Regions from separate parts of the Homo sapiens genome. Here regions 1, 2, 3, 4, 6 and 7 are each linked to region 5. Evidence: promoter capture Hi-C in 16 types of primary human blood cells and fetal thymus (Javierre and others, 2016). All regions are on one chromosome and are shown on one strand. Each heading gives the region's core, a stretch centred on a gene start or on the middle of the fragment in contact. The rest is flanking DNA. Distances are from core to core; before and after follow the strand shown. Region 1 has its middle 16 kb from the start of MREG. Region 2 overlaps MREG (melanoregulin). Region 3 overlaps PECR (peroxisomal trans-2-enoyl-CoA reductase). Region 4 overlaps MREG (melanoregulin). Region 5 holds the start of SPAG16 (sperm associated antigen 16). Region 6 overlaps MREG (melanoregulin). Region 7 has its middle 85 kb from the start of MREG.

Region 1 (2,890 bases), core at 295-2,794, 2.7 Mb before region 5:
TACTTAGCAGGCTGAGGCACAAGAATCGCTTGAACCTGGGGGCGGAGGTTGCAGTGAGCTGAGATTGTGCCACTACACTCCAGCTTGGGTGACAGGGCGAGACCCCGTCTCAAAAAAAAAAATTGCAAAATATTTTGGGTAACAATAGCTAGCATTTATTAGGTGATTACTATATGCCTGACACTGCTAAGCCCTTTCCATGCATTATCTCATTTTAGCCTTACAAAAACTCTGTGAGGTAGTTTCATTATTACCAGCATTTTACAGTTGAGGAAACTGGCATGAACAGGTCAAGAAACTTGTTCAAGATCTCAGCACATGGCAGAAGTGGCATTGGAACCAAAGGAGTTTGGCTTCAGAGCCCCGACCCCTGCCCTGTACTGAGAGAGACAGACCAGCACCAAGGACAATGAAGAGATTATTTTGAAAATTTTTAATGGAATTTCTCAAACACAGGCTAAAGAGAATAGTGTAATAGTACCCATCACCCCCAATAATCTATATTTTTACAAATTTGTCTATCTGTCCCCCTTGATTTATAAGTATTTTAGAACAAATTTGAAACCTAAATCTTCTTTATAACCTTTTAACCTGTCATTTCAGAGCAAGCAGTAATTTTAAGGTGGTTGAAAATATGAATGTGAACACAAAGATGGGGCTCACAGTGGGAGACTGGTCCACCATGATAGCATATGAGAAGCCCATGTGACCACCATGAGCATGTGCACCGACCACAGGCCATAAGAGATACGACTCAGCCATAGGCTACAAACATTTGGTTTGCTTGGCATGCACATTCCTCTCTTGTAAAATGATGCATGAGACTCTCAGAGCTAAATTCATTAAACCATCTCCTTTTCCTCTGAATCCCTGTCAAAAACAAATCTAAAACTTTGATTTGCTGTGCAACTTTGCCTGAAGGGAAATACTGGACTATTCTGGCCCTAGGCATTTTCAGCCATGCTGGGAGTTTTGTGTTAGTCTAGGCTGTGTATTTCAGCTTCTGGCGAGTTTGTGAGCATGACTTAGCATCCTTGTATTTTGAGAACTCTGGAAAGAGGGATAACAAGTTTGTGTTTCTAGTTCTTCAAGCCCAAGGGCCAGCCTGGAGGCAGGGGGAGGTGCATAAGCACCTTCTGCCTTGTGTTTATCATTTTGCCTTTGTCGTCCTAACTCAGCAGCCTCAATCCTTCTTTTGAGATGGAGTCTCACTCTCTCGCCAGGCGGAGTGCAGTGGCGTGATCTCAGCTCACTGCAACCTCTACCTCCCAGGTTCAAGCAATTCGCCTGCCTCAGCCTCCTGAGTAGCTGGGACTACAGAAGCGCGCCACCACGCCCAGCTAATTTTTGTATTTTTAATAGAGACAGGGTTTCACCATGTTGGCGACGATGGTCTCAATCTCTTGACCTCGTGATCTGCCTGCCTCAGCCTCCCAAAGTGCTGGGATTACAGGCGTGAGCCACCACGCCTGGCCAGCCTCAATCCTTCTTTACATCTGCTGCCATCAAGCTGCTTTCATCCTTTTATTTTACAGGAAATTATTTATTTCCTTTTAAATAAATAAATAAAGATGAATATAACATCTTTTTTATTGTACTGGTATTTATTTTGGAATTGCTACTTGTAAGTGCTCTGGTCAGAAATTTGTGTATCTTGAGTGGTCTGCACTTAACTCCATATTCCAATGGGGGGAAAACCAAAACTGTGTCTCTCTTTTTCTCTCTCAGAGAAAAAGCCTTATTTTTTTCTTCCTTTTTATGTTCTTTTTCTTTATTGTGGTGTAACTAATATATATAACATAAATTTTGCCATTTTAATGATTTTAAGTGTGCAATTCCTACTGTTGTTATAGACAATTACAGAATTGTCTGTAATTGGTAGAATTCAAATTTCTCAAACAGCAAGATAAATTCAAATATGCATTACCTTAACACTATACAAATTCGAATTCCCAAAATCCAAGTATGTTTGAGAAAATATCTAGAGTACAGTGAGAAAAAATGGAATTAAATAAATACACAATTACTGGAAATCTATGTCAGCTATCACACATTAAAATCCTGCCTAGAAATATCAAATGGAATTTTTTCCATTGATCTGTATATATTTTCAGATTATCTGGGTTTTTTTTTTTTTTTTTTTTTGAGATGGAGTCTTGCTGTGTTGCCCAGGCTGGAGTGCAGTGGCGCGATCTCGGCTCACTGCAAGCTCCGCCTCCCGGGTTCATGACATTCTCCTGCCTCCGCCTCCCGAGTAGCTGGGACTACAGGTGCCCGCCACCACGCCCAGCTAATTTTTTGTATTTTTAGTAGTGACGGGCTTTCACCGTGTTAGCCAGGATCTCCTGACCTCGTGATCTCGATCTCCTGACCTCGTGATCCATCTGCCTCAGCCTCCCAAAGTGCTGGGATTACAGGCGTGAGCCACCGTGCCCGGCCTATCTGGGTATTTTGAGCAAGTTCGTGAAAGACATCTCTTTCAATGGTTTGCAACCATACCACACTATACATGTCATTTATTTCCACTTAAAGCCTATGTTTTACATTATATTTACATGAAGCATTATTTGGTTTTAGTGTAGAAGTCCAAACTCTTGTATGGAAGTCAAAATGCCCTGCCTCAAATTCTAAAATTTTCCTTGTGAAGTAACTGTATTTACATAGAAAAATCAGAAAACTATAATGTTGAGAATTAAACATTAAAATTTCAAGTTTTATTAAATAATTGACTTTAAGTGTATTTTGAAATTTAGTGTCTTTGAAAATTTATTCGACATTTTCAGATTTAGAATGCTTTCAGAAAAACAATGCAACTTGTGAATGACTTTTTATCACAGAGGGTGGGGGAAGGGAGAGTTGGCTTGACTCTTGTTCAGAATGGACATTTTTG
Region 2 (3,025 bases), core at 150-2,649, 2.7 Mb before region 5:
TTTGGAATAAGTGCAATGTGGTGCTGAGAAGAATGTATATTCTGTTGATTTGGGGTGGAGAGTTCTGTAGATGTCTATTAGGTCAGCTTGCTGCAAAGCTGAGTTCAAGTCCTAGATATCCTTGTTAATTTTCTGTCTCGTTGATCTGTCTAATATCGACAGTGGGGTGTTAAAATCTCCCATTATTGTTGTGTGGGAGTCTAAGTCTCTTTGTAGGTCTCTAAGGACTTGCTTTATGAATCTGGGTGCTCCTGTATTGGGTGCATATATATTTAGGATAGTTAGTTCTTCTTGTTGAATAGATCCCTTTACCATTATGTAATAGCCTTCTTTGTCTCTTTTGATCTTTGTTGGTTTAAAGTCTGTTTTATCAGAGACTAGGGTTGCAACCCCTGCTTTTTGTTGGTTTCCATTTGCTTTGTAGATCTTCCTCCATCCCTTTATTTTGAGCCTATGTGTGTCTCTGCAAGTGAGATGAGTCTCCTGAATACAGCACCCTGATGGGTCATGACTCTTTATCCAGTTTGCCAGTCTGTGTCTTTTAGTTGGGGCATCTAGCCCATTTACATTTAAGGTTAATATTGTTATATGTGAATTTGGTCCTGTCATTATGATGTTAGCTGGTTATTTTGCCCGTTAGTTGATGCAGTTCCTTCCTAGCATCCTTGGTCTTTACAATTTGGCGTGTTTTTGCAGAGGCTGGTACCAGTCGTTCCTTTCCATGCTTAGTGCTTCCTTCAGGAGCTCTTGTAAGGCAGGCCTGGTGGTGACAAAAGCTCTCAGCCTTTGCTTGTCTGTAAAGGATTTTATTTCACCTTCACTTATGAAGCTTAGTTTGGCTGGATATGAAATTCTGGGTTGAAAATTCTTTTCTTTAAGAATGTTGAATATTGGCCCCCACTCTCTTCTGGCTTGTAGAGTTTCTGCTGAGAGATCCGCTGTTAGTCTGATGGGCTTCCCGACAACTGACACTTATGGAGCACTCCCTGTACTCCAGATGTTGCTCTAAATACGTTACCTATACCACACCAACTACCGTTGTCCTCAAGGTATGATAACTCGGTGCTTTCCTCTCCAGTATAAAGTTATTCATGTCATTTGGCCAGAACCTCCTGTCCTTTGATGGTGGTAGATGGTGATTTCTGAATGTCATCCCCAGATGAGTAGTAGCCTTAAGCACTGGGTACAGGCAGAAATTTGGGAAGGCAGGTAGCAGAATGTGGAATCAAAGCAAATCTAGAATAATGTAATATTGTGTGAATATGGGGCTAAGAGCAAGGGATGTATTTCAAATAAAGGCTCTAGTTGAAGAGGCTGGGCAGATACCCAGACAGAACCAACAGATTTGGAATAGAAGGCAAGATGCATGGGATAGAATGGAAGGTAGAGTTTCAAGAAATTGTAGTCCGAGTGAAACACGCAGATTGTTGCAAGTGGAACTTAATGCACTGCCAAGGCTCAGTGAGGAAATGACATCCTACTGTCCCATTTTTTTTTTTTTTTGAGACGGAGTCCTGCTTTATCACTTGGGCTGGAGGGCAGTGGTGCGATCTTGGCTCACTGCAACCCCTGCCTCCTGGGTTCAAGCGACTCTCCTGCCTCAGCCCAGCTCCCCCATACCACGCCCCCCGCGAGTAGCTGGGATTACAGGTGCACACCACCATGCCCGGCTACTTTTTGTATTTTTAGTAGAGACAGTGTTTCACCGTGTTGGCCAGGCTGGTCTTGAACTCCTGACCTCAGGCAATCTGCCCGCCTCAACCTCCCAAAGTGCTGGGATTACAGGTGTGAGCCACGGCGCCCGGCCCTATGAGACTTCTTGACTGTCTTCCTGTCAAATAATGATATCATCTCTGTTGCCCATTGATAGTTACACTTTCCCAACTGAAGGCTTATTCATTTTCTTGATGCATTATTTAATATATAAAGCTGACTGAAGGTACAGAAACCTATGAGGTTATTAAGCTTTGGAAAATCTCTGCCCGAATGGACTGTGGCAGTGTCTAGTAAAGATTTACATTTTTCTCTTGGCTGAGCCCATGGGATGTGGCTGCCCCCAAATGGTATTCCTTGTGATCAAAACAGCTCCTTGGCTTCTGTGGCAGTCATTTAGGTTGCACTGACTAGCTCTTTTTAAGGTAGAATAGCCTACATATTGCAACTAAATTAAGTCAACTCATCCAGCAGTTTTGCTGTCAATCTAGCCTATGGTCAGTGGGCACCATTCTCACACTGCTAAACAAAGTTATGGTTATGAAAGGCAAAAGTATAGAAATAAAACTACCCAATGAAAGTACTGGTTAAGTACATCTTAAGTAGCTTCACTAATGAATGCTATATACCTTGAAAAATAATGAGATAGGATTTATAGATAGTGACTTAGAAAGACGGTTATGATCTATTGCTAAATGGGTATGTATAATGTTATCCCATTTGTGTAAAAGCATGTATATGCTAATGTACAATGATAAGATTTGTGGACTGTTACCTGCAGTAGAAGTAGGTGGAGGGAAGGAGGCTTTTACTTTCCTTTAACTTTATAGTTTTCTGTACAGTTTGAATACAATTCAGAGGTATTATTTCATATATATATATATATATAATTCATATAAAATAAAATTCTCTCCCTGTTATTTCCTAACACATTTTGTGGTGGCTGTTTCCCTGGATCTTTCTAAACTGTTTTGCTTTGATTTACTGTGGGTGTGCTGGAGAAAGTGGGAGGTGGAGAGAGGGAGAGAGAGAGAGAGAGAGAGAGTGTGTGTGTGTGTGTGTGTGTGTGTGTCTGTGTGTGTGTCTGTGTCTGTGTTTAGGAACTGGAGCAGGCTTTGAGGAATTTCACCAGAGTAGATAAAGCAGAAAGGCGATGAAGCCATTGGTCAGCATTTATCTTTCCAAGGGTCTAAGATTCTTCCTTTACATCAGTACCTTTCTTTGCAGCTGTCTTCCCCTCCCCTGCCTGTAAAGTCACATGCTAATTAATAGATCTTTGTGTGTTGCCTTTTTCACCACTGTGCCCTCACCA
Region 3 (3,243 bases), core at 730-3,229, 2.8 Mb before region 5:
ATGTTGGCCAGGCTGGTCTCGAACTCCTGACCTCAAGTTATCTGCCGGCCTCGGCCTCCCAAAGTGCTGGAATTACAGGCGTGAGCCACTGCACCAGGAACAATAGCAAGATATTTAAATGGAAGCATGTATATTTCATTGTTATTGATTTAACTATTTCCCTCATATTGAATTTTTAGGTAATTTCCATTTTTTCACTTCTCAAGACTACATCCTTGCATGAAAATCTTTGCTTGACTCTGTTTCCAAACATTGTGGCACATGTGGTGGCATGGCACATGCTTGTAGTCCCAGCTACTTGGGAGGCTGACACATGAGAATTGCTTGAACTCTGAAGGCGGAGGTTGCAGTGAGCCGAGATCACGCCACTGCAATCTGGCCTGGGTGACAGAGTGAGATTCCATCTCAAAAGAAAAGAGAAGAAAAAAATTGGCTAACATTTTCTTTTTTGCTCAATTTGGGTTTATATAACAATGTCTTTCACTTCCACAGGATTTTGACTTTTCCTTTTTCTGAGAGGACACAGAAAGCTTTAGCTCACAAAAGCAGGATATTGTAGGCAGAATTAGATCTCCTTTATACCTTTGACAGGTGCTGTTAGGCAGAGAGAAACCTGATTTCATCAAGGAAAACCTAGCATCGTCAAGTTGAATTCATATCAGATGTTTTTTTATCTTCAAGTTAATCATTCACTTTCTGTTACTACAGTAGAACATAAATTAGGTATAGTAGATAAAATGCAATTAGGAAATGCCGGTGGAAATTATGACCCAAGACAACATTTTTTCTTGCTCTAGTCTAGTCTAACTAGCCTGTTACCAACACCAGGGACCAAGAAGGTGCTGAATAAATGTAGTATTCTGAGTTGAAGATGGAAAGGGATCAGTATCAGCCTAAGCAGGAACGCAGCATACTGGGGCTACAAGCCTCTGATGTTGAAAGAACTCCTTATCCACAAGCTACTTCTATACCTATTCTAAGCAGGTCAGTTGAGCTTTCTGCATCTCTCTAGCTACATATAAACAAAAATAAAGTCTATTGAAATGATTTAGCATGAAAGGCAAGGATTATATATAATATTTTTCTAGTTTATTATAAGGTAGCATAAGAGGTTTGCAATAAATTAAAACAGTATAGAAGTGTATAAAAGAAAAAAATGAGCTTTACCCATTCTGCCCTTTTTCTAAATTCCCTTCCTGGTGATTTTCTACAAATTTAATGTGCACATGTATACACACGTATATATATTTTGTTTTCTACAAAATTGGGATCACAGTATTCTTACTGCTCTGTAATGGTTTTTTTTCCTACTTAAATATCTTGTTTTTTCTTTGTTTTGTTTTGTTTTTTAGAGACAGGATCTTGCTCTGTCACCCAGGCTAGAGTACAGTAGTGTCATCATAGCTCACTGCAGCCTCGAACTCCTGTCTGAAATGATTCTCCTGCCTCAACCTCCCAAGTATCTAAACTATAGGCATGTGCCACAATGTTTGGCAATAAAAAAATTTTTTTAGAGACAAGGTCTCATCCAGGATGGTCTTGAACTCACCACAAGCGACTCTCCAACCTTAGCCTCCCAAATTGCTGGGATTACAAGCATGAGTCACCATGCCTGGCCCATATCTTGTGTTTTTCAATGGTAGTATTGTAGTCATATCTCATTCATTTTAAAGCTGCATAGTATTCCATTGTGTGGGTCTGTAATAACTTATTTAACCATTTCCTGAATGGCCATTTAGGTTTTTATTTTACCCAGCATTGCATTGTTTTTCCCTGTAATATGTTTGCACCCTAGTTCAAGTTTGTCTATAGTGGAAAGTTCTAGCAGTGAAAGTAAATGGACTTGTAAAGTTGTATTTCAGTGCATCTTTACTTGTAGTAGACAACTGTCCTGAAGTCTTGAGGTTTCAGATAGTAACTAGTTATAATTTAGTAAACTTCTATTTAGATAATCCATGTGAATCATCCTATTTATATTCTCAACATATTTTTTACTCGAGGTCTTGGACAAAGTTAGGCATTAATCACCTTGGTGTTCTTGTTTTCTCTCTCTCTCTCTTCCTTCCTTCCTTCCTTTCTTCCTTCCTTCCTTCCTTCCTTCCTTCCTTCCTTCCTTCCTTCCTTTTTTTCTTTCTTTCTCTCTCTCTTTCTTTCTTTTCTTTCTTTTCTTTCTTTTTCTTTCTTTCTTGACACAGTCTCACTCTGTCACCCAGGCACAATCTTGCCTCACTGCAACCTCTGCCCCCAGGTTCAAGCAATTCTCGTGGCTTAGTCTCCTGAGTAGCTGGGATTACAGGCGTGTGCCTCCATGCTCAGCTAATTTTTTTGTATTTTTAGTAGAGGTGGGGTTTCACCATGATGCCCAGGCTGGTCTTGAAGTCCTGAATACAAGCGATCCACCGGCCTTGGCCTCCCAAAGTGTTGGGATTACAGGCATGAGCCACTGCACCCAGCCTAGGTAAAGTTTTTCATCCCTGCCCTATAGAGCCTATGCCCTACTCTGGGAACTAGAGCAAAAAATGTGTATGTTGAAGGCAGAAATATCAAAGAAAGAAGTGGGTGGAGGAAGTGGTGGCTTGTCCTGGGGTGCTTATTTCTCTCCTTTCCATCTCACTGATAAGCTCAGCTATTTCTCCTAAGTGACAGAAACCTAACTGAGTGTTGGATTAGTCTAGAAGTATATACAGTCATGTGTCACTTAACACAGGGAAATCTTCTGAGAAATACATCCTTAAGTGATTTCATCATAGTGTGAACATCATAGAGTGGTAGGCAAACCTAGATGGTATAGCCTACTATATACATGGTTTATATGGTCAATAGCCTATTGCTTCTAGGCTCCAAACCTGTACGGGAGGTTACTATGCTGAAGGCTGCAGGAAATAGTAACACAAAGGTAAATATCTGTGGTCTAAACATATCTAAACATACAAAAGATATAATAAAAATATGGTATTTTTATTATAAAATTATATAAAAACATACAAAAGATATAATAAAAATAAAAGATATAGTAAAAATATGGTATAAAATATAAAAAATGGTACACCTGTATAGAGCACTGTATAGGACACAGGAGCTTACGGGACTGGAAGTTGCTCTGGGTGAGTTAGTGAGGGAGTGATAAGTGAATGTGAAGGCCTAAGACATTATTGTTTACTATTGTAGAATTTATAAACACTGTACACACAGGCTAAACTAAATTTATAAAAAAATAAAGTAATTGCAGCTATGACATTACAG
Region 4 (2,857 bases), core at 266-2,765, 2.7 Mb before region 5:
GACTTAATTACATCTGCAAAGACCTTGTTTTCAAATAAGGTCATAATTATAGTGACTGGGGATTAGGACTTGGACATATCTTTTGGGGGGAAACTATTCAGCCCATTACAGAGTACTTTTGAAAGATGTGTGAGCCCAAAGCATTGGTAATTATTTCACTTTTGCAGCATGGCTTTCTTCCATCAGTGATAAGAGCATGCTCTTGCCATATAAAAATCTACCTGAGGCCAGGTGCAGTGGGTCACACCTGTAATCCCAGCACTTTGGGAGGCCGAGGCAGGCGAATCACCTGAGGTCAGGAGTTCGAGACCAGGCTGGCCAACATGGTGAACCCTGTCTCTATTAAAAATAAAAAAAATTAGCCGGGTGTGGTGGCGGGCACCTGTAATCCCAACTACTTGGGAGGCTGAGGCAGGAGAATCGCTTGAACATGTGATTCTCCTGAGCATGTTTGTGTTCCTGGAGGCACAGCTGCAGTCACCTTTAAGGAGAAAGACGCTCAGGTCTTTTGGCACCATGGAGCCTACTGCCATGTAGGATCTAATACAGACATCAGAGGCCTGGGAGATGCTGAATCAGAACACAGAGAAGCTGGCTGTGGTGTAAATGTCATGCACCGAAGGATCTTTCACAAGGGTTGCTTTGAACTTTTTCAGTGCTGGGATTACAGGTGTGAGCCACTGCACCCAACCCCCACTTAGCAGCATTTTTTTTTTTGCATTTTTGTACTTTAGCTGGCAATTTCACTGTTTAGAATATCTCCCAAAGTGTAGTGCTGAAGTGCTAACATACATGTTGGATAAGCTTCACTCCAACCTGAGATATAGGGTGTTGGCCATGAGTTCAATGTTGATAGAGCAACAATATATATTAAATAAGGTGTCTTTAGGCAGAAACACATAAAACAAAGTTATGTATTGATTGGTTGACAGGGATCTAATCCTGCCATCGGCTCACAGGAACCTAACTCTGTATTTCCCCTAGGAACAATGGTTCAGTATTCACTAATTCAGTGTTCAAGCGACTTTACAGAACCTAACTACCACAGACAACAAGAATCAGCTGTGCTTCATAGGGCTATGGTGGGGATTTCATTAACAGATATAGCAGAAATGGTTTAGTTTGAGTCACGCCGCTTGGGGCAGAGACTGAGTTGAAGAGGAAAGTGTCTCTGACAAGGAAGTTCATCTTCCCTGCCCTCATGCTCCTGATCCTGTACAGATTGGGCTTAGTGCTTGTGACAGACTAGGCACTGTTGTAAATGCTTTGTATCTGTGGGCCATTCAGGAAAATTCAATTTGTTTTGAATTTGGCCCACACCCGAAGGTCCTGATCAATTCCTTTTTAGAATGGTCCTTTGTGTGGGCACAAAACAGTCATCTAGAGCAAACTGAGATTTTATTTTACTTTCCCTCCCAGGAATTCAGGCACTGTAGAAAAATAAAACAGTGACGTCTGTCCATTCATTGCCTGCAGAGGGCATCAAGTTTGTTATCATGAATGGAAGCTGCAGGTGGGCATCCAGATGAACAAGGAGCAAAACAGATTTGGAAGCTCATTATATGGTCCACTTGGGTGGCTTAAGAGAGAGCCACACATAAAATCATAGCTATTGTTGTTCATTCTTTCCATTTCTTCTTTTGCTGTTGAAAAATCAGACAGATGTAACGATGTTTGATTATCAGTTATTAACAGCTAATAGAAATTAGAGAGTAACAATTGTTACAAATTGAATTTTCCTGAATGGCCCACAGATACAAAGCATTTACAACAGTGCCTAGTCTGTCACAAGCACTAAGCCCAATCTGTACAGGATCAGGAGCATGAGGGCAGGGAAGATGAACTTCCTTGTCAGAGACACTTTCCTCTTCAACTCAGTCTCTGCCCCAAGCGGCGTGACTCAAACTAAACCATTTCTTCTATATCTGTTAATGAAATCCCCACCATAGCCCTATGAAGCACAGCTGATTCTTGTTGTCTGTGGTAGTTAGGTTCTGTAAAGTCGCTTGAACACTGAATTAGTGAATACTGAACCATTGTTCCTAGGGGAAATACAGAGTTAGGTTCCTGTGAGCCGATGGCAGGATTAGATCCCTGTCAACCAATCAATGCATAACTTTTTTTATGTGTTTCTGCCTAAAGACACCTTATTTAATATATATTGTTGCTCTATCAACATTGAACTCATGGCCAACACCCTATATCTCAGGTTGGAGTGAAGCTTATCCAACATGTATGTTAGCACTTCAGCACTACACTTTGGGAGATATTCTAAACAGTGAAATTGCCAGCTAAAAGTACAAAAATGCAAAAAAAAAGCCGCTAAGTGGGGGTTGGGTGCAGTGGCTCACACCTGTAATCCCAGCACTTCGGAAGACCAAGACAGGTGGATCACTTGAGGTCAGCAGTATGAGACCAGCCTGGCCAACGTGGTGAAACCCCATCTCTACTAAAAATACAAAAATTAGCTGGGCGTGGTGGCACATGCCTGTAATCCCAGCTACTCTGGAGGCTGAGACAGGAGAATCACTCGAATCTGGGAGGCGGAGGTTGCAGTGAGCCAAGATTGAGATACTGCACTCCAGCCTGGGTGACAGAGCGAGACTCCATCTCAAAATAAATAAATAAATAAATAAATAAATAAATAAATAAATAAAATGTTGCTAAGTGATCACAAAAAGGACGCTTGTTTCCAATCTGAGAGCTGAACCAAGAAGCCTGAGTGTTGCCTTTTGACCTCGGCTGGGGCTGTGCGTCTCAGGCAACTCTAAATTTTTTGTCACTCTAGGCATGTTCATGAATGTCCTTGGAAACATCACTAGTATTGATTTTGGGGTTACAGGTAAATTTTGACGAG
Region 5 (3,035 bases), core at 7-2,506:
TTTTTGCACCCAATAAAATACTACATATTTTCTTTAATCTTTCAGCTAAATTCTTCAAAGCTCTCTGTAGTGTGGATGTGTACTGAGCCTGAGTCAGGACAGGTTAATCGGCTTGTCAAAGCTCACGAAATGAATCATTGCTGGATTTCTGAAATCTTGAATTAAACCTGGAGAGGATTACAGTTGGACAAACAAATAAGATTTGGCAGATTTTGGAGTTTCCTTGGTATCTTTAAGAACTGAACAGATAATCATCTCTTTCTTACCTCCCTGAATAAAGGAGTTACATGTCTTTTTCTCATGAACCCTCCCCGTCTCCCTAGTAGGAATTAATCTATATAACTAGAGGAAAGAAGTTCTAAAGCCTTACACAAGAAATAGTGGACCTAATTATCCACACATTGTTATTCAATTTTTCTGGTACTTCCGATAAAAATCGCTAATCACCATCTGCTTTATTCCTAATATCTCTGAGCTGTGTAGCTCACCAGATCATTATTTATTTGCTCAAGAAAAAAAAGCAACTATACTATTAGTATTTATTATTAAGTAGTCAAACTTGGAACTACTCAGGAAGATAATGCTATCAAAACTAAGCATTTAAGCATTAACTGGACCATCGAACAGGATCGTGGGTTGGGTATTCTGAGCTTCAGCTCCTTAAAGTCCAATGGCAGAGGTCTTTCCCTAGTCTCCTAACGTTCCTCCGTTGAATTTATTGGGACGGCTTTCTGAAAGATTGAGGGCTTATTTAGGAAACCCATTATTTGAAAGGAGGGTTGAAGCAATTTGTTGTGCTGTCTTAACATAAAAAGCAACCCTCCATCCAAAATGTACTGAGTGGTTACTAAGTATGAGGCCTTGGAAGGTCTCCCAACTCTTCTAACAGGTACAGGACACCCTGGGCTACTAAGGGCGAGAAATTCAGTGAGTGGCTCTCAGGAAGACTGTGGTGGCAAAAACAGCACCTTGAAGTCCAACAGAGGCTCCTCCGGAGTGGCCCCAAGGCTCAAAAGGCGCCGCCAGTGGGAGGCCCTCGCCTTCGTCCCAACACCCATTACCCGCCAGCGCAGCGGGCCGCGCCTCCACGGGAAGGATACGTTCCAGGTAGTAGGCGCCCTCAGCCGCCACCGCGTCCGCCGTGTCCCTCGCGTCCCCGGCTGCCGTCAAACCCATGCCCAACGCCTCTTCCAGGACCCTCACGGCGGAGCTGGGCATCCCTCGCTGAGCAGCCATCTCTGGCGCTTCGGGCCCCCACCCCCAGCAGGCCCACAGCCGTCCCTAAGGGCAACAGCGAAGACGCTACCCAACGGCCCCCGGGAGCTCTCGCGAGATTCCGGCATCTCTCACCCCGCCCCACGGACCAGCCCCGGGCACGTAAGGGTTACCGGGAGTCCAGGGAGCTGTCGCCCTCCCGCGCCTCCCAGTTACCGTGGCAACGATGTTGCCTAGTTAACGCGAGAGCTCGGGCGCAGCTCTGGGAGCGGACAAGATACAGTAAACAATTGGCTTGCATTGCACCTTCCTACCCAAGCAGCTTGGTTTTCTTTCGCTTTGACCCTGTAATTTCTTTCCCACTTCGTTGTCGTCTCTGAATTACCTTTCTCTTGATTCTTGCCCATTAGCATCCTCCAATTTCAGATGTTTGTAGATCCCCAAGTGTTCCCAGGGAAAACTACTAGAAAAGGTGAGTTCTCAACACCTGGAATTTTTTAAAAAATGAAAAAATAAAGTTCTAGAAATCATAATAGAAAGACTGACCCAGGGGAGCTACCAGACGCTCCTCAGATGCTTAGCAATGAAGAACTATGGTGTTCAGCTTTGTCAATTCCTTTCTTGTGATCTTTAATGCATTTAGCTGGACATCTGTTTTGAGTTTGGTTCCATATACTAAGACTTGGAATAGTATTTGTAGCATTGATTCTCGCCAAGGTAAAAACAGTTGCATAAAAATTATGAGCTACAAATTTGGTCCTGACAAATGTATGCAGTTGACACTTGCCCCATCATGTATAGTCTTATTGCTGAGAGGATCTTCCTCAGGTTATATCGCGTATGTATCAGAAGCAAATTCAAGGCCCTTTTCTTTGCAAATATTTTTTTTTCCCTTAACTTTTATTTTAGGTTCAGGGGTACAAGTGCAGGTAAGCTCATGTCGCAGGGGTTTGGTATATAACTTATTTCGTCACCCAGGTACTAAGTGTAGTACCCAATAGTTATTTTTTCTGATCTTCTCCCTCCTCCCACTCTCCTCCTCAAGTAGGCCCCAGTGTCTGTTGTTCCTTCTTTGTGTCCATTTGTTCTCATTATTTAGCTCCCACTTACAACTAAGAACATGCAGTATTTGGTTTTCTGTTCCTGCATTAGTTTGCTAAGGATAATGGCCTCCAGCTGCATTCATGTCCCTGAGAGGACATGATCTCATTCTTCTGTGGCTGCATAGTATTCCATGGTATATGTGTACCACATTTTCTTTATCCAGTCCGTTGATGGGCATTTAGGTTGAATCCATGTCTTTATCATGAATATCAATGAACACGCATGTACATGTGTTTTTATGGTAGAACAATTTCTGTTTCTTTGGGTATATACCCAGTAATGGGATTGCTAGGGCAAATGGTATTATTTTTCATTCTACATTTCTTGGTGAAAACTGGAAGCCAGTGATCCTATAAAAGCTCCCATTTATTACCAAAAGGTAGCAGTAACTTCCTAAGGAGGTGTTTGAGAGTACGTGTGTCAGAGCCAGAGAGACAGCTTTCAGAGCCTGCTTCCATCACTTACTAGCTATGACACATTGGGCAAACTACTACTTAATGCCTCTAGGCCCCAGTTTCATCATTTGTAGAACAAAGACAACAATATTACCTACCTCAAAGTGCTGTTGCAAGGGGTAAAGCAACAAAAAGCATTAAGAACTTACTGGGAACATAGAAGACACTAAGAAATGTTAGCTGTTATTTCTATTAAATGTGTTTGATATTGTTTTATTTTTTAGAATAATCAAGGGTCACAGATATAATAGTCGGGTAATT
Region 6 (3,214 bases), core at 248-2,747, 2.7 Mb before region 5:
CTTTATCTCATCCATCTCCTTCTCTTCTTTTAGGCTTGCTTTGAAGATTAATAAAAGAGAAGAGCCAGGTGTTTAGGCAACATGAAGTTTGGGAATGAGATAGAGGTTTAAGCCAAGGGGTATAAATAAAACTAAACTTTTATTTTCCTGCAGGAGTGGCAGAAGCTCAACTATGATATCCATACCCTGCGGCAGGTTCGAAGGGAAGTAAGAAACAGATGGAAGTGCATCTTAGAAGATTTAGGTAAGTCTAAAAGAGATTGTGAAATGGTAAAAATAACTCGTTGTGATCATTATTCTTCAATTTCTCCACCATGGTTTTTATAAAAGGAATGTCAATAATTGCCTAATTAAGACTACTGTGTACTAATTATTCTCCCAATCTTGCTCTTATATCCTCAAGCATAAATGCCTGATGTTTCTGTTGTCACCAGTCCATGTCTTCAGGACACACTCTGCCATGTGTTACTCCATCTGTCCCTAGTATAGGGTACGCATGCCAGTGCAGTCATGTGGGCACTAACATTTACTTTTTTGGCATTGTACATTAATTTAATTAGATGGGGTGTTGGCCAATTAGTCATAGCTTTGTAAGATGAAGCAGGTTGGGAGAAATATTGTTTGCAAGACAGACAGCAAAACTCAGTGTAGAATTTCGGAAGAAATATGGAAGAAAAGCTTCGAGGTTGGGAAAAACACTTGTGGCATTAGGGTAGATACCTGCCCTCATCACTAATGGTTAATGATAATGATTTTTCTCAATTCTCCCGGGATTGTGATACAATAAATGTGGCCCCCACATTATATAATCCTGCTTCAATGTTTAAAAAGTGAATTTATCAGTTCTGAAGTCCTTGATCCTTTTGCTTTGAAAGAGAGCATGACATCTTGGCATCATCACTTTTCAAGCGTGGGGGGCCATGTGACCGATCTCTATGGCTTTGGTTGGCATGCAATGGGATGGGATGGGATCTCTGCCCTCTTTGCATATCTAGTATTGTTGTGAGCTAATAGCCTTTTTTTTTTTTTAAACAATGAAAGTTACTCCAAGTAGGTTTAAGTCTTTGAATCCTTTATACTTTTGGGTGAGTGATTTTTACCAGCTAATCATATTACCCTGAGGAAGAAAATCCAGGTTTGGAGAAGGACAGCCTGGAGGGAACCACTTTGCAGGCTGGGAGGCAGGTAGGAATTCTGGGGACAGGGGAGAAGCTAAAGAGTAGGGAGGACAGGAAAGAGGGCTTCAAACCAGAAACAAGGTGGCAAGCAACCAGTGGATGAGTATCTGAGGCTCTGAGGGAAAAGTTAACAAAGAGAAAAAAAATACCGAAAGAATTGTAATTAAATATCCTGCCAATCACATGGATCTGGGAGGCAGCACATGGAATAGTACCTTTGGCTTCAGTTTTCTGATGCTTTATGCTTGTACAGAATCCACATGGGTCTGTTCGTAATCTCCTGCAGGGACCGTATTGCGGAACACTTGTTAACTTGGGACTACTTTACATGAGTGGTCCATTTTTCTACCTTAGGTTTTCAAAAGGAAGCTGACTCTTTGTTGTCAGTGACTAAACTCAGCACCATCAGTGATTCTAAAAACACAAGGAAAGCTCGAGAGATGTTGTTAAAACTGGCTGAAGAAACCAATATTTTCCCAACAAGTTGGGAGCTCTCAGAGAGATATCTCTTTGTTGTGGTAAGTGGATGCTTTTTTTCATTTGCCCTAATTTTGCTTTAATTGCTTGGCTTTTTAAAACTATTCACTATCCTCCGTATTCCAACACCACCATCACTATCACATATGAGGTGGCAGATGCTGGCATTATATGCTGTGGTCCCCAGTGGCCCGCAGCATCAGAATCACCTAAAGAGTTTTAAAAGTTCAGATTTCTGTATCACACGTAGACCTACTGAGGCTTGGGTTCCAGCTCAAGAGTTTGTATTTTTCAGTGAATTCTACTGTGTAGTCTATTTTCTGAACCATTTGTAGGTCAAAGAGATGTGAGAAGTATTGTTTATTTAACCTATAAGACTAAGAAATAATCTGAAAGGAGAAAGGACGCTAAGGAGTGGGGAAATGTTTCTTGGATAATGTAACTAAAGGATTAAGGCGTGTCTCTACATTTGTTAGGAAAAAATTAATAAACGTCTTACTTGCTCATTGTCATTTCCAGGGTGGGTTTTGTTGTTGTTAGATTGCTTTTTCCCATCGACATGTCTTGGTTCCTATCTTGCCAGCAGTTTTTTGGTTTGTTGTTTGTTTTTGCAGGACCGTCTCATTGCACTTGATGCTGCAGAAGAGTTCTTTAAGCTTGCTCGTCGAACTTACCCCAAGAAGCCTGGGGTTCCATGCCTGGCAGATGGCCAGAAAGAACTGCACTACCTTCCGTTTCCAAGTCCCTAAAGGAGAGGCTCAGGGGCAGAATGGGAATTCTTCCATGAGGACTCAGCAGTCAACCAAAGTTGGACAATTACATGTAGAAGAGAGTGAGCAAATAGAGTTTGCTTAGTGAAAAATGATACTGAATTCTACATAAATGTAAAGTCTTTAATCTGAGGACCCTGCCCCATGAATTGTGCAGGCTGCATTGAAACGCCTTGGTGATCTCATATTTAGGAAGAAAGTTAAAGAGTTGGTCAGATGGATAGTTCATAATGGGTGGTTCCATTCTGAGAGCCCATTGCCCCAGCTTTGGTTTTAGTTGTGTCATAATCTCTGATCATTAATCCTACTGACTGAGTGGACTATTTCAGTTAATAAAACAATATGATTAATAGAGAGAGCTGTCATTGAGTCCCAAAATGGATTGCCAGTTTTAAAATAATTATTATAAAATGTATGCTAACCCCAAAATAATACTAGGCATGAGGTGACCTCTCTGATTTGGTCACCTTGTAGAACCTTGGAGGGTGTCAGGGCATCTCTTTGAGTATCAGTTATGATTATTCAGAAGTATAGATGTATCAAATGATAGAAATGACAAGGAATGGCTGGGCGTGGTGGCTCATGCCTGTAATCCCAGCACTTTGGGAGGCCAAGGTGGGTGGATCATGAGGTCAGGAGTTCAAGACCAGCCTGACCAACATGGTGAAACCCTGTCTCTACTAAAAATACAAAAATTAGCCAGGTGTGATGGCACGCGCTTGTAATCCCAGCTACCCAGGAGGCTGAGGTAGGAGAATCGCTTGAGCCCGGGCAGTGGAGGTTACAGTG
Region 7 (3,254 bases), core at 295-2,794, 2.6 Mb before region 5:
ATTGAAATACACGTTTACATTACTGTGTCCCTGTCCCCCAGAAAAGAAGACCTCTTTTAGGGTAGCACCAAATCCTGGTCAACTACAAATCCTGGTCGTCTTTGTATCCCTGTGACCTGATCTTTTCATAGTGATCGCGCCACTGCACTCCATCTTGGGCAACAGAGTGAGACCCTGTCTCAAACAAAAACAAAAACAAAAAGCAAATATTTATAGAAGGTGTTTGAATAAAAAGAAAAGATTGGATCCAGTTTCTAGTGGGTAAGGCAGATGAGAACAGAGTAGACAAACAAACAAGGTAACTACAATTTGCAAGCAGTGCTGTAACAGGAACACTGGATGAGATAAGGTGGAACTGAGTGGGGCCCCTCTGCACAGGGTGGTCAGGGGCCTCTTCTCTGAGAGAGGTCTGAGTTGGGACCCTTAAAGGATGAGTCACAGCCAGTCAGTCATGCAAAGATGTGAAGGAAGAGGGGCCCAGGCAGAGGGAACAGCAAGTGCAAAGGGCTGGAGGCGATAAAGGCTTTGGCATAGCTGAGGGCGAAAGGGAGCAGAGCATGTCTGGAGTAGCTTAGGGGGTCATGATGAGCAGAGCGCTGGAGGCACGAGGAAGGGTGGATCTTCAGTTCCTGCCTTGTGCGACCAGAGAAGGGTGTCTGCCTTGGAGAGCCAGGAGCTGACTTATGTTGTGAAACAATAACTTGCCATGCATTGCGAATGGATCAGAGGATGGCAAGAATGGGAACAAGATGTGTCAGAATTGAGAGAGGGTGATGGTTTGGACTAGGTTGGTGGCATTGAGGAGGAGCATAAATGGGTGAAGTGTGAGGTGTATTTTGGAGAGGTAATGGACAGGAGTTGCTGATGCATTTGAATTTGGGGGATGGTGCAGGAAGAGGAGAAATCAAGGATGACTCATAGCTTTCTAGCTGTGGCAGAGTGTGGGGCCATTTGCTGAGTTAAGGATGTCTGGGAGAAGAGGCTAGATCAGAACAGAATCAATTTTGGATCATTTTGATGAAACACCATGAGTTCCTCCCCAGACCCCCAACAATTGGAGAACTTATTTTGTTTCTAAGCACAATATTCTAAGTAGAATATTGTGGGGGTTTTTTTGGTAACAGCTTCATTGAGGTATAATTCACATACTATGCAATTCACCTATTTTAAGTATATAATTCAATGGTTTTCAGCATATCCACAGAGTTGCAATCAATTTTAGAATATTTTCATTACCCTAAAAGAAACTGTACCCTATTGCAGTCACACCTCCTTCATTCTTCACATCTACCCTCCTCATCCTAAACCCTAGGCAGCCACTAACGTAGTTTCTGTTTCTAGATTTATGTGTTGTGGACGTTTGTGTAAGTGGAACCTATGGTTATATGGGACCCTTGTTCCTGACTTCTTTCACTTAGTATAATGTCTTGAAGATTCAACCGTATTGTCGCATGAATCATAATTGTATTCCTTTGTATTGTGGAATAATTTCCTTCATTTTTATGAAATAATATTGCATACAATATTATAACATTTTATGCATCCATTTATCAGTTAATGGGCATTTGGGTTTGTCTTAGTCTGTTTGGCTGCCACAACACTCGCTTCAGCCTGAGTGGCTTAAACAACAGACGTTTATTTCTCACAGTTCTGGAGTCTGGAAGTCTGTGATCAAGCGGCTGGCTGATTCAGTGCTCAGTGAGGGAGCTCTTGCAGGACGCCATCTTTATGCTGGATCCTCCTGTGGCAGAGAGAGATGATCTCTCTCCTGTCTCTTCTTCTAACGGCATCAATTCCATTCGCAAAGGCTCCTCCTTCTCCCTAATTACCTCCCCAAAGCCCCACCTTCAAATATCATCACAATGGAGATTAAGACTTCAACATATGAATTTTGGAGACACTCCGTTCATAGTGAGGTGGTTTCCACTTTTGGGGTATTATGAGTAATGTTGCTAGGAATATTTGTGTGCAGATTTTTGTGTAGATATCCAGGAGTTTTGTTTCAACATGAGAATTTTGCAGTGTTTTTAGGACAGTGTTTGTAGGACAAAACAAGCTGCTGCCCTTGATTCCCTGCTCTCTTCTCACAGCTGACCATCCTGTGACCTTTGCCATTGAGTTTAGGAGACTCCATTCCACTGTAGACAAACCAGCCTGAACCCTCGTGTCTCCACCTCGTGTCTCTTTCTGTTCTGTATCCAGCTGCTACATATTTCGGGATGAAATGCCCTGCAGTTGGTCTGTTGGTCGGCATTTTATGTGGGAGTTGGCTCACATTGTTGATGTGTGAAGAATGGTATTGTTGGCTCACGAGAACGTGGGGTGACTTCCTGGAGGAAGTAGGACAGCCTAACATGTATCACGAGAGAGAAGCTATGAGGGCAAGAGAAGCTGCATCCACGAGGCAGTCCTGGGTGGGACCTCCAGCTCTCCACTTCCTAACTTGGGCAGATTGCTGAAACTTCCTGGCCTTCATCTGTAAAATGGCAATGCCAAGTTTCATGCGCGTCCGTGTGAAGAGACCACCAAACAGGCTTTGTGTGAGCAACATGGCTGTTTATTTCACCTGGGTGCAGGCAGGCTGAGTCCGAAAAGAGAGTCAGCGAAGGGAGATAAGGGTGGGGCCGTTTTATAGGATTTGGGTAGGTAAAGGAAAATTACAGTCAAAGGGGGTTTGTTCTCTGGCAGGCAGGAGTGGGGGTCACAAGGTGCTCAGTGGGGGTTCTTTTTGAGCCAGGATGAGCCAGGAAAAGGACTTTCACAAGGTAATGTCATCAGTTAAGGCAAGGACCGGCCATTTACACTTCTTTTGTGGTGGAATGTCATCAGTTAAGGTGAGGCAGGGCATATTCACTTCTTTTGTGATTCTTCAGTTACTTCAGGCCATCTGGGCGTATATACGTGCAAGTCACAGGGGATGCGATGGCTTGGCTTGGGCTCAGAGGCCTGACATTCCTGCCTTCTTATATTAATAAGAAAAATAAAACAAAATAGTGTTGAAGTGTTGGGGCGGCGAAAATTTTTGGGGGGTGGTATGGAGGGAGAATGGGCGATGTTTCTCAGGGCTGCTTCAAGCGGGATTAGGGGCGGCGTGGGAACCTAGAGTGGGAGAGATTAAGCTGAAGGCAGATCTTGTGGTAAGGGGTGATATTGTGGGGACGTTAGAAGAAACATTTGTTGTATAGAATGATTGGTGATGGCCTGGATATGGTTTTGTATGAATTGAAAAACTAAATGGAATAACAGAAGGAGAA

What was found. Contacts are between HindIII fragments. The CHiCAGO score rates a contact against its expected background, and 5 or more counts as called.
Region 1: a fragment that was not itself captured here is called in contact with the fragment with the promoter of SPAG16 in region 5 in 8 of 17 cell types (non-activated CD4 T cells, total CD4 T cells, naive CD4 T cells and 5 more); the score reaches 15.6 in non-activated CD4 T cells.
Region 2: a contact is called between a fragment that was not itself captured here and the fragment with the promoter of SPAG16 in region 5, in 7 of 17 cell types (non-activated CD4 T cells, total CD4 T cells, naive CD8 T cells and 4 more). The highest score is 9.5, in non-activated CD4 T cells.
Region 3: a contact is called between a fragment that was not itself captured here and the fragment with the promoter of SPAG16 in region 5, in 5 of 17 cell types (naive CD8 T cells, total CD4 T cells, total CD8 T cells and 2 more). The highest score is 12.7, in naive CD8 T cells.
Region 4: a contact is called between a fragment that was not itself captured here and the fragment with the promoter of SPAG16 in region 5, in 1 of 17 cell types (total CD4 T cells). The highest score is 7.3, in total CD4 T cells.
Region 6: a contact is called between a fragment that was not itself captured here and the fragment with the promoter of SPAG16 in region 5, in 8 of 17 cell types (naive CD8 T cells, total CD8 T cells, total CD4 T cells and 5 more). The highest score is 22.9, in naive CD8 T cells.
Region 7: a contact is called between a fragment that was not itself captured here and the fragment with the promoter of SPAG16 in region 5, in 8 of 17 cell types (naive CD8 T cells, total CD4 T cells, activated CD4 T cells and 5 more). The highest score is 17.1, in naive CD8 T cells.

The regions. Positions count from the first base shown.
Region 1 is chr2:216,027,783-216,030,672 of GRCh38, reverse strand. It overlaps a transcript of MREG not described here and a transcript of PECR not described here. Among named protein-coding and RNA genes, the nearest start is that of MREG, 16 kb to the right of the region's middle. The HindIII fragment of the contact is 7,587 bases long and covers 1-2,890 here.
Region 2 is chr2:215,974,586-215,977,610 of GRCh38, reverse strand. All of the region lies in intron 2 of MREG (melanoregulin), which reads left to right. Among named protein-coding and RNA genes, the nearest start is that of MREG, 37 kb to the left of the region's middle. The HindIII fragment of the contact is 1,136 bases long and covers 832-1,967 here.
Region 3 is chr2:216,073,375-216,076,617 of GRCh38, reverse strand. All of the region lies in intron 1 of PECR (peroxisomal trans-2-enoyl-CoA reductase), which reads left to right. Among named protein-coding and RNA genes, the nearest start is that of PECR, 6.8 kb to the left of the region's middle. The HindIII fragment of the contact is 2,894 bases long and covers 533-3,243 here.
Region 4 is chr2:216,007,204-216,010,060 of GRCh38, reverse strand. All of the region lies in intron 1 of MREG (melanoregulin), which reads left to right. Among named protein-coding and RNA genes, the nearest start is that of MREG, 4.9 kb to the left of the region's middle. The HindIII fragment of the contact is 1,417 bases long and covers 807-2,223 here.
Region 5 is chr2:213,282,685-213,285,719 of GRCh38, reverse strand. SPAG16 (sperm associated antigen 16) reads right to left here and starts at 1,256. Exons shown (of 16, transcript NM_024532.5): 1 at 1,101-1,256. The coding sequence starts at 1,236. It overlaps SPAG16-DT (SPAG16 divergent transcript), which reads left to right and starts at 1,511. Exons shown (of 3, transcript NR_161186.1): 1 at 1,511-1,687. RefSeq lists enhancers at 854-933, 1,004-1,053, 1,094-1,223. The HindIII fragment of the contact is 3,357 bases long and covers 1-3,035 here.
Region 6 is chr2:215,944,053-215,947,266 of GRCh38, reverse strand. It overlaps MREG (melanoregulin), which reads left to right. Exons shown (of 5, transcript NM_018000.3): 3 at 154-244; 4 at 1,533-1,696; 5 at 2,270-3,214. The coding sequence ends at 2,404. Among named protein-coding and RNA genes, the nearest start is that of MREG, 68 kb to the left of the region's middle. The HindIII fragment of the contact is 1,633 bases long and covers 681-2,313 here.
Region 7 is chr2:215,927,372-215,930,625 of GRCh38, reverse strand. No RefSeq gene overlaps it. Among named protein-coding and RNA genes, the nearest start is that of MREG, 85 kb to the left of the region's middle. RefSeq lists an enhancer at 2,489-3,015. The HindIII fragment of the contact is 6,678 bases long and covers 1-3,254 here.